4 separate regions of the Homo sapiens genome follow, and regions 1, 3 and 4 are each linked to region 2. The links are contacts of gene promoters, found by promoter capture Hi-C in blood cells and fetal thymus (Javierre and others, 2016). All regions are on one chromosome and are shown on one strand. Each heading gives the region's core, a stretch centred on a gene start or on the middle of the fragment in contact. The rest is flanking DNA. Distances are from core to core; before and after follow the strand shown. Region 1 has its middle 11 kb from the start of FBXL12. Region 2 holds the start of ZNF559 (zinc finger protein 559). Region 3 has its middle 7.0 kb from the start of ZNF562. Region 4 holds the start of ZNF846 (zinc finger protein 846).

Evidence for each region. Contacts are between HindIII fragments. The CHiCAGO score rates a contact against its expected background, and 5 or more counts as called.
Region 1: a fragment that was not itself captured here is called in contact with the fragment with the promoter of ZNF559 in region 2 in 2 of 17 cell types (non-activated CD4 T cells and naive CD4 T cells); the score reaches 5.5 in non-activated CD4 T cells.
Region 3: a fragment that was not itself captured here is called in contact with the fragment with the promoter of ZNF559 in region 2 in 2 of 17 cell types (activated CD4 T cells and monocytes); the score reaches 6.1 in activated CD4 T cells.
Region 4: a contact is called between the fragment with the promoter of ZNF846 here and the fragment with the promoter of ZNF559 in region 2, in 12 of 17 cell types (total CD8 T cells, non-activated CD4 T cells, neutrophils and 9 more). The highest score is 13.6, in total CD8 T cells.

The regions. Positions count from the first base shown.
Region 1 is chr19:9,806,846-9,809,823 of GRCh38, reverse strand. No RefSeq gene overlaps it. Among named protein-coding and RNA genes, the nearest start is that of FBXL12, 11 kb to the left of the region's middle. The HindIII fragment of the contact is 1,440 bases long and covers 933-2,372 here.
Region 2 is chr19:9,322,632-9,325,568 of GRCh38, reverse strand. ZNF559 (zinc finger protein 559) reads right to left here and starts at 1,390. Exons shown (of 7, transcript NM_032497.3): 1 at 1,341-1,390; 2 at 789-874. ZNF559-ZNF177 (ZNF559-ZNF177 readthrough) reads right to left here and starts at 1,390. Exons shown (of 13, transcript NM_001384659.1): 1 at 1,341-1,390; 2 at 789-874. RefSeq lists a silencer at 987-1,126 and an enhancer at 1,297-1,546. The HindIII fragment of the contact is 3,488 bases long and covers 1-2,937 here.
Region 3 is chr19:9,680,760-9,683,459 of GRCh38, reverse strand. It overlaps the pseudogene RPS4XP22. Among named protein-coding and RNA genes, the nearest start is that of ZNF562, 7.0 kb to the right of the region's middle. RefSeq lists an enhancer at 2,451-2,700. The HindIII fragment of the contact is 1,511 bases long and covers 614-2,124 here.
Region 4 is chr19:9,767,389-9,770,132 of GRCh38, reverse strand. It overlaps ZNF846 (zinc finger protein 846), which reads left to right and starts at 1,395. Exons shown (of 6, transcript NM_001077624.3): 1 at 1,395-1,844. RefSeq lists enhancers at 1,111-1,330, 602-1,467 and a silencer at 1,411-1,580. The HindIII fragment of the contact is 9,482 bases long and covers 1-2,744 here.

The sequences.
Region 1 (2,978 bases), core at 403-2,902, 480 kb before region 2:
CAGGTGTGAGCCACTGCGCTCGGCCACCATGTTGTAATTTTGGAGACTCTGAGCCAGTACACCAGGGTCACGTGATGGAGGCATACTTGCATGGTTGAGTGAGCACGGTAGGCCTCTGTGCTGAGATCTGAGAGGTGAAGAGAAAGCAAAGATCAGAAGAGCTAGGGCAGAAGAGGAAAGGCCAGCACTGCTAAGATGAGAATGAACTTGGCATTTTCCAGAAACAGAAAGAAGGTTGTGTGGCAGAGTGAGCAGGGGTAAGAGCTGTCGAAGTTGAGGTCAGGGCCGGGCATGGTGGCTCACATGTGTAAACCCAGCACTTTGGGAGGCTGAGGTGGGTGGATCACTTGAGCCCAGGAGTTTAAGGCCAACCTGGGACATCTGAGGCAAGTGAATCACTTTGAGTTCAGGAGTTTGAGACCAGCTTGGGCAACATGGTGAAACCCTGTCTCTACAGAAAAAATTAGCCAGGTGTGGTGGTGTGCATCTACCCAGCTGGTATCCCAGCTATTCAGGAGGCTGAGGTGGGAGGATTGCTTAAGCCTGGGACTCGGAGGTTGCAGTGAACTGTGATCACCACTGCACTCCAGACTGGGTGACAGAGTGAGACCCTGTCTCAAAAAAAAAAAAAATAAAACAAAAGGAGATAATGGGGACAGGAGTGGGCAGGGCCTTGCAGGTGGCTCAGGCTTTAGGGGTTCAGTAAGTAACACCACCTTTTCCTGCCTTTCGAGTCTGAACCACTTGAAAGATGCAGGTGTCAGATTATAAGTGTGAGTGCCTACCCGTGAGATGAGCGTTGCTGTGTGTGGCTAAGCCCCGGCTCTGTGGGTTCACCACCTGCTCAGCAGGCCCAGGTGCCTCCTCTGGTGCTTAGAGCCAGGTTGGAGAAGAGAGCTGAGCTGGGTACACTTGGTTTCTTATTCCAAGCTTACCCATCAGAGAAGAGCCAGAGATGTTCCTCCCATGCTCTTCCCACTCAGAGTTGCAGTAGAAATTCCTTCTCTTTCTGTCTCTCTTTTTTTTTTTTTTTTGAAACGGAGTCTTGATCTGTTGCCCAGGCTGGAGTGGTGCAGTGGTGCAATCTTAGCTCACTGCAACCTCTGCCTCCCAGGATCAAATGATTCTCCTGCCTCAGCCTCCTAAGTAGCTGGGAATACAGGCGTGTGCCACCATGCCTGGCTAATTTTTGTATTTTTAGTAGAGTTGGAGTTTCACCATATTGGTCAGGCTGGTCTCAAACTCCTGACCTTGTGATCTGCCCACCTTGGCCTCCCAAAGTGCTGGGATTACAGGTGTGAGCCACTGCGCCCAACCTTTTTTTTTTTTTTTTTTTTTTTTTTAAATAGAGATGGGGCCAGGCACGGTGTGTCCCATGCCTGTAATCCCAGCACTTTGGGACACCAAGGCGGGAGGATCATCTGAGGTCAGGAGTTCGAGACCAGCCTGGCCAACATGGTGAAACCCCGTCTCTACTAAAAATACAAAGATTAGCTGGACTTGGTGGCACATGCCTATAATCCCAGCTACTCAGGAGGCTGAGGCAGGAGAATCGCTTGAACCCTGGAGTGGGAGGTTGCAGAGAGCCGAGATTGTACCACTGCACTCCAGTCTGGGCAACAGAGAGAGACTCTGTTTCAAAAATAAATATAGATAGATAGATAGGAGGTTGCAGAGAGCCGAGATTGTGCCACTGTACTCCAGCCTGGGCAACAGAGAGAGACTCTGTTTCAAAAATAAATATAGATAGATAGATAGACAGACAGGTAGACAGACAGAGACAGGAGTCTCCCTATGTTGCCAAGACTGGTCTCGAACTCCTGGGCTCAAGCCATCCTACTTCAGCCTCCCAAGTAGCTGGGACCACAGGAATGTGCCACCACACCTAGCTACTTTTTATTTTTTGTAGAGATGGGGGTCTCACTGTGTTGCCCAGGCTGGTCTCTAACTCCTGAGTGCAAATGATCCTCCTGCCTTGGCCTCCCAAAATACTGGGATTACAGGCATGAGCCACCTCACCTGAAATTCCTTCTCCATCTGGCCACATGAGGACTAGGCTATGAGTGTGCCCCTGATGTGGCCCTAGTCAAGGTCTGATTGTCCAATGCTGTGACCACCCCAGCAGCTCCAGCCCAGGACATCAGGGGGCTGGGTTGAACCAGGTAGAAACAGAGATTGGTGAAGTCTCAGAGCCTGTGGGAACAAGGAGGGAAATGAGGTTTGTTTTGCTTGCAGAGAGTGTCTGGAGAGCTGGGGTCAGTTTGGGAGAACATGAGGGTGACTCAACACCAGCCCTGTGCTGGACTCTGCAGGTGGTTCTGGAAGTGCATTGCCGATGCCCCAACCTGGAACAACTCTAGGGCAAAAAAGCTTCCTTTCTTTTTCCTCTCTGCCTTTCCAGTTGGAAGGGAGGGAGCAGCAGGCATTCGTTTTAGTTTTTTTGTTTGTTTTTTGGAGATGCTAGTCTCACTCTGTCACCTAAGCTGGAGTGCAATGGTGCGATCTCAGCTCACTGCAACCTCTGCCTCCAAGGTTTATGCTGCAGCCTGCCTCAGCCTCCTGAGTACCTGGGATTACAGGCACATGCCACCACACCCAGCCAATTTTTATATTTTTAGGAGATGGGGTTTCACCATGTTGGCCAGGCTGGTCTCAAACTCCTGGCCTTAAGTGATCCGCCTGCTTTAGCGTCCCAAAGTGCTGGGATTACAGGTGTGAGCCGCTGCAACTGGCCAGCAGGCATTAATTTTGAAGCAGGTAAGTGTTTACAGGCAGTGCTAGCAGGTGGGGGAAGAAGGCCCTGATCTGTAGCATTTGCAGATTACTATGGTGTAAACACTGTCTCACCACAGCTGGTTTCAAGCTACCAACAGTTTAACAACTGGCTCACAAAATAGTTGAAGATTCAGCATTTGGCTCTCCTGAGCTGTGGCATACCACTGGTTACAGGTGTCTTCTTCCTGGGCTTACCCTATGGA
Region 2 (2,937 bases), core at 141-2,640:
CGCCAGCCTCAGCCTCCCAACATGCTGGGATTACAGGCGTGAGCCACCACACCTGGACTAAAGACATTTGTTTTACTCGAGCTACAGATGTTCTCTAGATCAGTATTTGTTTTTTTTTCTTCTTTTTGAAACAGGGTCTCACTCTGTTGCCTAAGCTGGAATGCAGTGACACAATAATGGCTCACAGCAGCCTCGACCTCCCATGCTCAAGTGATCCTCGCATCTCGGCCTCCAAAGTGGATGGGACCACAGACACCACCATGCCCAGCTAATTTTTTATTTTTAGTAGAGACAGAGGCTTGCCCTATTTTTTCCAGGTTGGCATCAAATTCCTGGGCTCAAGCGATCCTCCAGCCTCAGCCTCCCAAAACGCTGGGATTACAGGTGTGAGCCACCTTGCCCCGCCCTCAGTAAGACTTTCAAATGAGTAACTGGTAGAAAACCCACCTGTCAAAAGTTATCTTCGCATTCATTATCAATTCAATCCCTCCTGCTAGTAAATCAGCCCGCACCGTGTTCCTGGGGATGCCCTCGTTTTGAACCTCTGGGGGAATCTACAGGGCGCTAGAGTGAGATCTAGGTGATGGCCTGGAACCACAGTTGAGTAGTCCTGTGTTTTTCCTTGGTGGTAAATTTTACAGTTATGTGCATTCATCCACTCATGCATTCGATGGTATCAGATCCATGTGCTCTCGAACAACCACCTGAAAAGGTTTCTTTCCACCTCGACACAACTTAAACTTCAAGACCCGACACCCACAGCCAGAACAAGTGCATGAAGTGCTCACCGGGACACGACAGAATTGTCAGGTTGCTGAGGCCAGGAGGACACCAAGCGAAGGTCACCGTGAACAGGAAGGCAGAGATGCTGTTCCTTATAGAGAAAAGGCACAACGCTGGATGTGGAGACTTTTTTTTTTTTTTCCATTAGAGATGGTTGGGGGGGGGGGTCTCCCTATGTTGCCCTGCCTGGTCTTGAACTCCTGGCCTCAAGTAATCCTCCTACCCAATCCGCCCAAAGCGCTGGGAATGACAGGCGTGAGCCGCCGCGCCGGGCCCTATGAGGCTTCTGCAGAGGGGAGCAGGGAAAATGGAAAGGCCGTGCCCCCCGCCTCCTCCCGGGCCGAGGCCCCAGCGCAGCCGCCTCGACCCCTGAGGACAGACCTGACTGTGGCTCTCAGAGGAGGGGCCGCGACTTGGGAGAGCCCACAAGATGCTCGAAATGCCCGAAAGTGCACGGGACAGGCTCCATTTCACTGGGCACCTCCCCTTTCCACCCTTCTACTCTCGCGTGGCTGCACCGGGACACCACCGAACGCCGCCCAGAAACAAAAACTTACCTCAGACGCCAACGGGAACGCGCTGTTAAGATGGCGGCCGTTATGCGCATGCGCCCACGCAGACACGCCGCGCACGCGCAAAGGCTAGGACCACCTAGGGGGCGGGGCCTCGGGTTCCCGGGCCCATCAGCTGCTGCGGCTTTTTCCAACCCAGAGCTGAGAGGAAATGCTGTTTACCTCCCCGAAGAGCGCAAGTGTCACCGGTAGGGGGTCTTGACTGCAAGCTGTCCAGGTTACTGGCGTTTTGAACAAAGAATTAGACAAAACGCCCAGCAAAGCAAAGAAAGAATGAAGCAACAAAAGAACAAGAGCTGGGATTTGTTGAAAACGAAAGCATACTCCACAGTGTGGGAACTGGCCAAGCGGCAGCTCAAGGGCTCCGAAACAGAACCTTCATGAGTCCCAATACCTCCTAGAATTTTCCCATTGGCCACTTCATGCTCACCTCCTGTAAATGAAGCGGTAGCCCGCGTTCAGTCTGATTGGTTGCAGAAAGCAGCCAACCAGAGTCTGAAGTTACAAAGGTCACACTCCTGTGCAAACATCTGATTGGTTGCAAAAAGCAACCAATCAAAGGCTAGGGTGAAGTTACGACGTTACAAAGTTACACTTCTATGCAAATGAAGACTCAACCGGCCATCAGTCTGATTTGTTGCAGACAGCCAATTTCCTATCTGCCAGCAGAAAAGGTCAAAGGGAGTAGCCTCTGGTCCTTTTGTTATTTAGGCGAGGAAAGTGAGGGTTTTCCTTTCAATTTAGTTCTAGGAAGTCGGCCTGAAACAGCCTTAAGTTCCCTGCCTCCCGACTCTATTCAGCCTCACAAGGGCTTGATTTTTGGTCATCTCACACTCAGAGACTAGAATGCTCCTATTGGAATTTGTTCAAAAATTAGCACATAGAGGCTGGGCCTGATGGCTCACGCCAGTGATCCCAGCACTTTGGGAGGCTGAGGCAGGCAGACCACTTGAGCTCAGGAGTTCGAGACCAGCCTGGGCAATATGGCAAAACCCTATTCCTATAAAAAAGACAAAAAACACAAAAATTAGGACGTAGTTAAGAGCATAGATAAGATTCATGCGGACTTCCTAAAAGTGAAAACACCAAGATCTGGGGTCGGGGAATCTAAGGCCAATTCGTGATAATTTCCTAAAGTTAAATCAAAGGAAAAACACCTGGGGCTGGGGGCAGGGCACCTAAGGCCAATTAACACAAACTTCCTGAAGCTAAACCAAAAGGAAAAACCCCATCTCCCCAAGATCAAAGACTACTCTCTCTACAGTAAAAAGTAAAGTAGAGGTTCCTCTTCAAAGACTTTCCTGCCCATCTAATTAGGAATAAATAGTAACTTCTGTTAGAAGCAAAATTTATTCAAAGACCTGTACTAATGTGTCCGGAATTGGTGGGTTCTTGGTCTCACCGACTCCAAGAATGAAGCCGGGGACCCTCGTGGTGAGTGTTACAGATCTTAAGGTGGCACGTCTGGAGTTTGTTCCTTCTGATGTTCGGATGTGCTCGGAGTTTCTTCCTTCTGGTGGGTTCGTGGTCTTGCTGGCTCAGGAGTGAAGCTGCAGACCTTCGCGGTGAGTGTTAGAGCTCT
Region 3 (2,700 bases), core at 120-2,619, 360 kb before region 2:
CGTGAAGGATGCCAAAGGCAACAGATTTGCCACTAGATTTTCCAACATTTTTGTTATTGGCAAGGGCAACAGACCATGGATTTCTCTTCCCCGAGGAAAGGGTATCCGCCTCACTATTGCAGAAGAGACAGACAAAAGACTGGTGGCCAAACAGAGTGGTGGATGAAATGGTCCCTGAGTGACATTTTAGATCTTTGTACATAATTAAAAATAATGTGGCATGGCCGGGCACAGTGGCTCACGCCTCTAATCCCAGCACTTTGGAAGGCCGAGGTGGGTGGATCACGAGGTCAGGTGTTCGAGATCAGCTTGACCAACATGGTGAAGCCCTGTCTTTACTAAAAAGAAATACAAAAAGTAGCCGGGCATGGTGGCATGCACCTGTAATCCCAGCTACTCAGGAAGCAATGGCAGGAGAATCACTTGAACCTGGGAGGTAGAGGTTGCAGTGAGCTGAGATCGCACCACTGCACTCCAGCCTGGGAGACAGCAAGCCTCCATCTTAATAATAATAATAATGTGGCATGATTTTTAAAAAATGGATCAAAAACCTAAGTGTAGTGTAAGAGCTAGAGCTGAAAACCTATTAGAAGAAAACATAGGTGAGAAAGCTTCATGATATTGGAATTGGAAATGACTTCTTAGTTATGTCATCAACCACACAGGCAACACAAGAAAAATTATGAGTTGAACCTAATCAATAATACAAATTTTTTGCATCAAAGCATAATAACAAGAGAATGAAAAGACAATCTACAAATGGGAGAAAATATTTTCAAGTCCTGTATCCGACTGGGGACAAATATCTGGAGTTTATTTTTAAAATTTCTAGAACCCGAGAGTAACAACAACAAAACCCAATTCAAATACAGAAAAAGGACTTGAATAATATCACCAAAGAAGATACACAGATGGCCAATAAACACAGGAAAAGATGCTCATGAAAAGATGCTTAACATCACTAAACATCATGAAAATGAAAATCAAAACCATGCTGGATGTGATGGCTCACACCTGTAATCCCAGCACTTTGGGAGGCTCAGGGTGAGGGATTTCTTGAGACTAAGAGTTCAAGACCAGCCTGGGCATATTGTGAGATTTCATTTTTACAAAAAAGATTTTTTAATTCAGCCAGGCATGGTGGTGGCATGCACTTGTAATCCCTGCTACTCGAGAGGCTAAGGTGGGATGATTACCTGAGCTCAGTAGGTTGAGGACTGCAGTAATCCATGATCATGTCACTGCATTCCAGCCTAGACAACAGAGTGAGACCCTATCTCAAACAAACAAACAAGATTAAACAGAATTACCATATGATCCAGACATTCCACTTTGGCATATATATCCAAAAGTGTTGAGAGCAGGTGCTCAAAGAAATATTTGTACACCAATGTTTATCTCACTAGTATTCACAATAGCCAATCCCTGCCAAACTGCAATTTTAACACACTTGATTGTTTGAAACATAGCATGAACAAGCCTATTTTTAGCCATCTCGAGTGTGCCTTCTTTGTATTCTCTGAAATTATGTGCAATATCTGATAGCCATAGATAAGATAACTCCAGAGGCTATGAAAATCCCATCCCCCTGCTGTCCTGCAGAACCTTTTTTTTTTTTTTTCTTTTGAGATGGAGTCTCACTCTGTTGTCCAGACTGGAGTGCAGTGGCAAGATCTCGGCTCACTGCAACTTCCACCTCCCGGCTTCGAGTGTTTCTCCTGCCTCAGCCTCCTGAGTAGCTGGGATTACAGGTGCACGCCACCACGCCCGGCTAATTTTTGTATTTTTAGTAGAGATGGGGTTTCACCATGTTGGTCAGGCTGGTCTTGAACACCTGTCCTCGTGATCCGCCCCACTGGCCTCCCAAAGTGCTGGGATTATAGGCATGAGCCTTCTTGCCCGGCCCTTCAGAGCTTTTTAACTGGAAGATATGCTGTCAGTTTGGTGAGTATCATCATTTAGTTATTTATAAGCCCCCTCTTTGATTCCCTTTCTCCTCTGGGAGTCTCTCTTCCTTTCCACGCTTTCTGAGAAGTGACCCACAGGTAGAAGCCTGTGGATACTCTCTTGCTGTTTCCTACCTCCGCAACTGCTAACCTGTGAAAGCACATCCCAAATGAAGCTTGTATGCTATTGCCGCCTTGTAGTTACATCTTTTTCCTTACTCAGCCAAGAAATCACTTGAACACCTTACATGCGTGTATGGTTTTATTTTTCACACTTAGATTACTAGTCCATTTGGAGTATATTGTATATGATATGAAGTATAGATTTAATTTCATCTTTTCTCTGATAGCTAACCAACTGTCTTAGACTTTCCATTACAAATGGCATTTTTTCCCTATCGATCTGAAACACCACTTTTTTTTTTTTTTTGACATGGAGTTTTGCTTTTATTGCCCAAGCTAGAGTGCATTGGCACGATCTCGGCTCACTGCAACCTCTGCTTCCTGGGTTGAAGCGATTCTCCTGCCTCAGCCTCCCGAGTAGCTGGGATTACAGGCACCTGCCACCACACCTGGCTATTTTTTTTTTTTAATTGATCATTCTTGGGTGTTTCTCGCAGAGGGGGATTTGGCAGGGTCATAGGACAATAGTAGAGGGAAGGTCAGCAGATAAACAAGTGAACAAAGGTCTCTGGTTTTCCTAGGCAGAGGACCCTGCGGCCTTCCGCAGTGTTTGTGTCCCTGGGTACTTGAG
Region 4 (2,744 bases), core at 146-2,645, 440 kb before region 2:
AAAAGCCACGAAACTGTACACTTTAAACAGGTTAATTGTATGCTATGATAATTGTATCACAACAAAACTAAAGGCCTAAAGAAGGAACTGAATGTATCAGAGGCACAGAGCATTTTATGGATTAACAGGTTAATCTTTTTTTTTTTTTTTTTGAGACGGAGTCTCACTCTGTCGCCCAGGCTGGAGTACTGTGGCATCGTATCAGCTCACTGCAACCTCAGTCTCCTAGGTTCAAGCAATTCTCCTGCCTCAGCCTCTCGAGTAGCTGGGATTACAGGCGCCCACCACCACACCCGGCTATTTTTTAAAAAATATTTTTAGTAGAGATGGGGTTTCGGCATGTTGGCCAGGCTGGTCTCGAACTCCTGAACTCACGTGTTCCACCCGCCTCGGCTTCCCAAAGTGCTGGGATTACAGGCGTGAGCCACTGCCCCCAGCCCCATCAGGTTAATCTTTCAAACAGGGTGTCGCTGGTCTCGAACTCCTGGGCTCAAGCGATTCTCCCGCAGTAGCTAGGACTACAGCGGGATTATCTTTGTAAATATGTTTATATCCCTGCAGAGGGTTGAAGAAACAAGGAGAAAATCCTGCAGAAAAGAATTTCCCTAGGGTGGTGGCTCACGCCTATAATCCCAGCACTTTGGGAGGCCAAGGTGGAAGGATCACTGGAGCCCAGGAGTTCCAGATCAGCCTGGGTAACAAAGAGAGACCCTGTCTCTACAAAAAAATAAAAATAAAATAAAAATAAATTAGCCAGGCGTGGTGGCACACACCTGTGGTCCAAGCTGCTTGGGAGGCCGAGGGGGGAGGATCCTTTAGGCTCAGGAGTTCGAGACCAGCCTAGGGAACACAGTGAGACCCAAGTGTCTAGAAAAAGATAACTTAGCTGGGCGTGATGGGCCCAACTGTGGTCCAAGCTACTCCGGAGGCCGAGGCGGGAGGATAGCTTCAGCGCAGGAATTCCAGGCTGCAATGATCTATGACCGAGCCACTGCACTCCAGCCTAGGCGACAGACCGGAGCCTTATCTCAAAAAACTAAAAAGAGAAATTAAAAAAGAAAAGAAAAGCACTCGATGAGCATCCCGCTGTCTGCAATCGAAGCCTTAGGTGACGCCTCCACGCGTGCCCCGCCCGCTGCGCCAGTCCCCGCCTCCAACCCGGCCCTTGGCGCTGGGTTTCCTGGTCCGGCGTCGTTCCCAATATCGACAGATTGATCTGGATCCTGGTCCACCTGGGATGCGAGAAAACGGGACTTTTCTGTACGCGTGTCGAAGAGGTGGCCCCAGCTCTTCTCTCAGCTTCACATCATCCTCATTCCAAAGCTCTTGGGGCTCGGCCCCTACACTTAATGCCGTGCGCAACCGGAAGCGGAAGTGCCAGCCGGCGCGCAGCTATACGTATTCCCCGCTCTCCAGCAGCTTCCTAGCTGGGTTTTCACCTCAGCCAGCGCTCATGCTCAACCTAGGCAGGGCGGGGCAGGAGGGCCTAGCGGGAGGCGGAGCGAGGGTCGGAGGGTGACGCTCCGGACTTCTGCTAGGTCTGAGACGCGCCGGCCTCCCGCTGCTGCTCCGGAGAAGCGGCGCCTCCTCCCCGCCAGGACCCCGAGGCGGGGGGTTCCCGCCTTCTCTTCTGAGCGCCTCTTCCCGCTGCGCCCGCATCAGTCTGGGCCTGGCCCAGGGTCCCCGGTGGAGACGTGTTTTTTTCTCCAACCACCGTGCCCCTCTGTTTAAAAGCAGCCAGTCAACCTTTGTGTCCTTTCTCCAGAAGGAAAAGCATCTCAGCTGTTGTGGAAAAGGGCCCCAGCGTCCTCTTGTCACCGACAGGGCGATTGCAGTGCGTTCCGGTGAGCCCTGGACGGAGGAGATGATCTGGCTGTGGGAGGGCATCGCTTATTGAAGTTTGCGAAATTGCTCAGCAGTTAAATGCTTTGTCAAGTGTGCAGGAGTTGTAGGTTTATAGAAATAAAAGCAAATATTGCCACAGTTATAAAGCAAAGTAGCAATACTCCGCTGTGTTTTTGAGATCAAAAGCAGCTGAACTTCCTAGGTCAGTACCTCCCAAAGAGCTTCAAAACGGAGGGGCTTCCAGGAAGTAGGATGCCGCCTTCATTATACCAGTATCAGAAATTACAGTTGTATTAACTGTGAAAGAGACATGTTTTGATTCAGCGTTTTTCCTCTCGTATATATACATATTTTGAGACGGAGTTTCGCTCTTATTGCCCAGGCTGGAGTGCAATGGCGTGATATAGGCTCACTGTAAACTCTGTCTCCCGGTCCAAGCGATTCTCCTGCCTCAGCATGCTGAGTAACTGGGATTACAGGCATGTGCCACCACGCCCGGCTAATTTTGCATTTTTAGTAGAGACGGGGTTTCACCATGTTGGTTGGGCTGGTCTCGAACTCCTGACCTCGTGATCCACCCTCCTCGGACTCCCAAAGTGCTGGAATTACAGGTATAAGCCACCGCGCCTGGCCTTCCCCCTCATATATTTTTATTTATTTATTTACGTTTTAAAGACAGGGTCTTGGTTTGTTGCCCAGGCTATCTGTAGATTGAATATTCTAAACCAAAGAAAATGTGAAAGGCCAGAATATTGAACACCTATTATATATCCTTGTTGTAGACTGATCATTTGTTAATATTTTGCATGTTTTCTGTTTCTTTGCATCTCTTGTGTAGATCAATGTGTATTGGCCGGGTGCGGTAACTTAAACACCTGTAATCCTGGCACTTTGGGAGG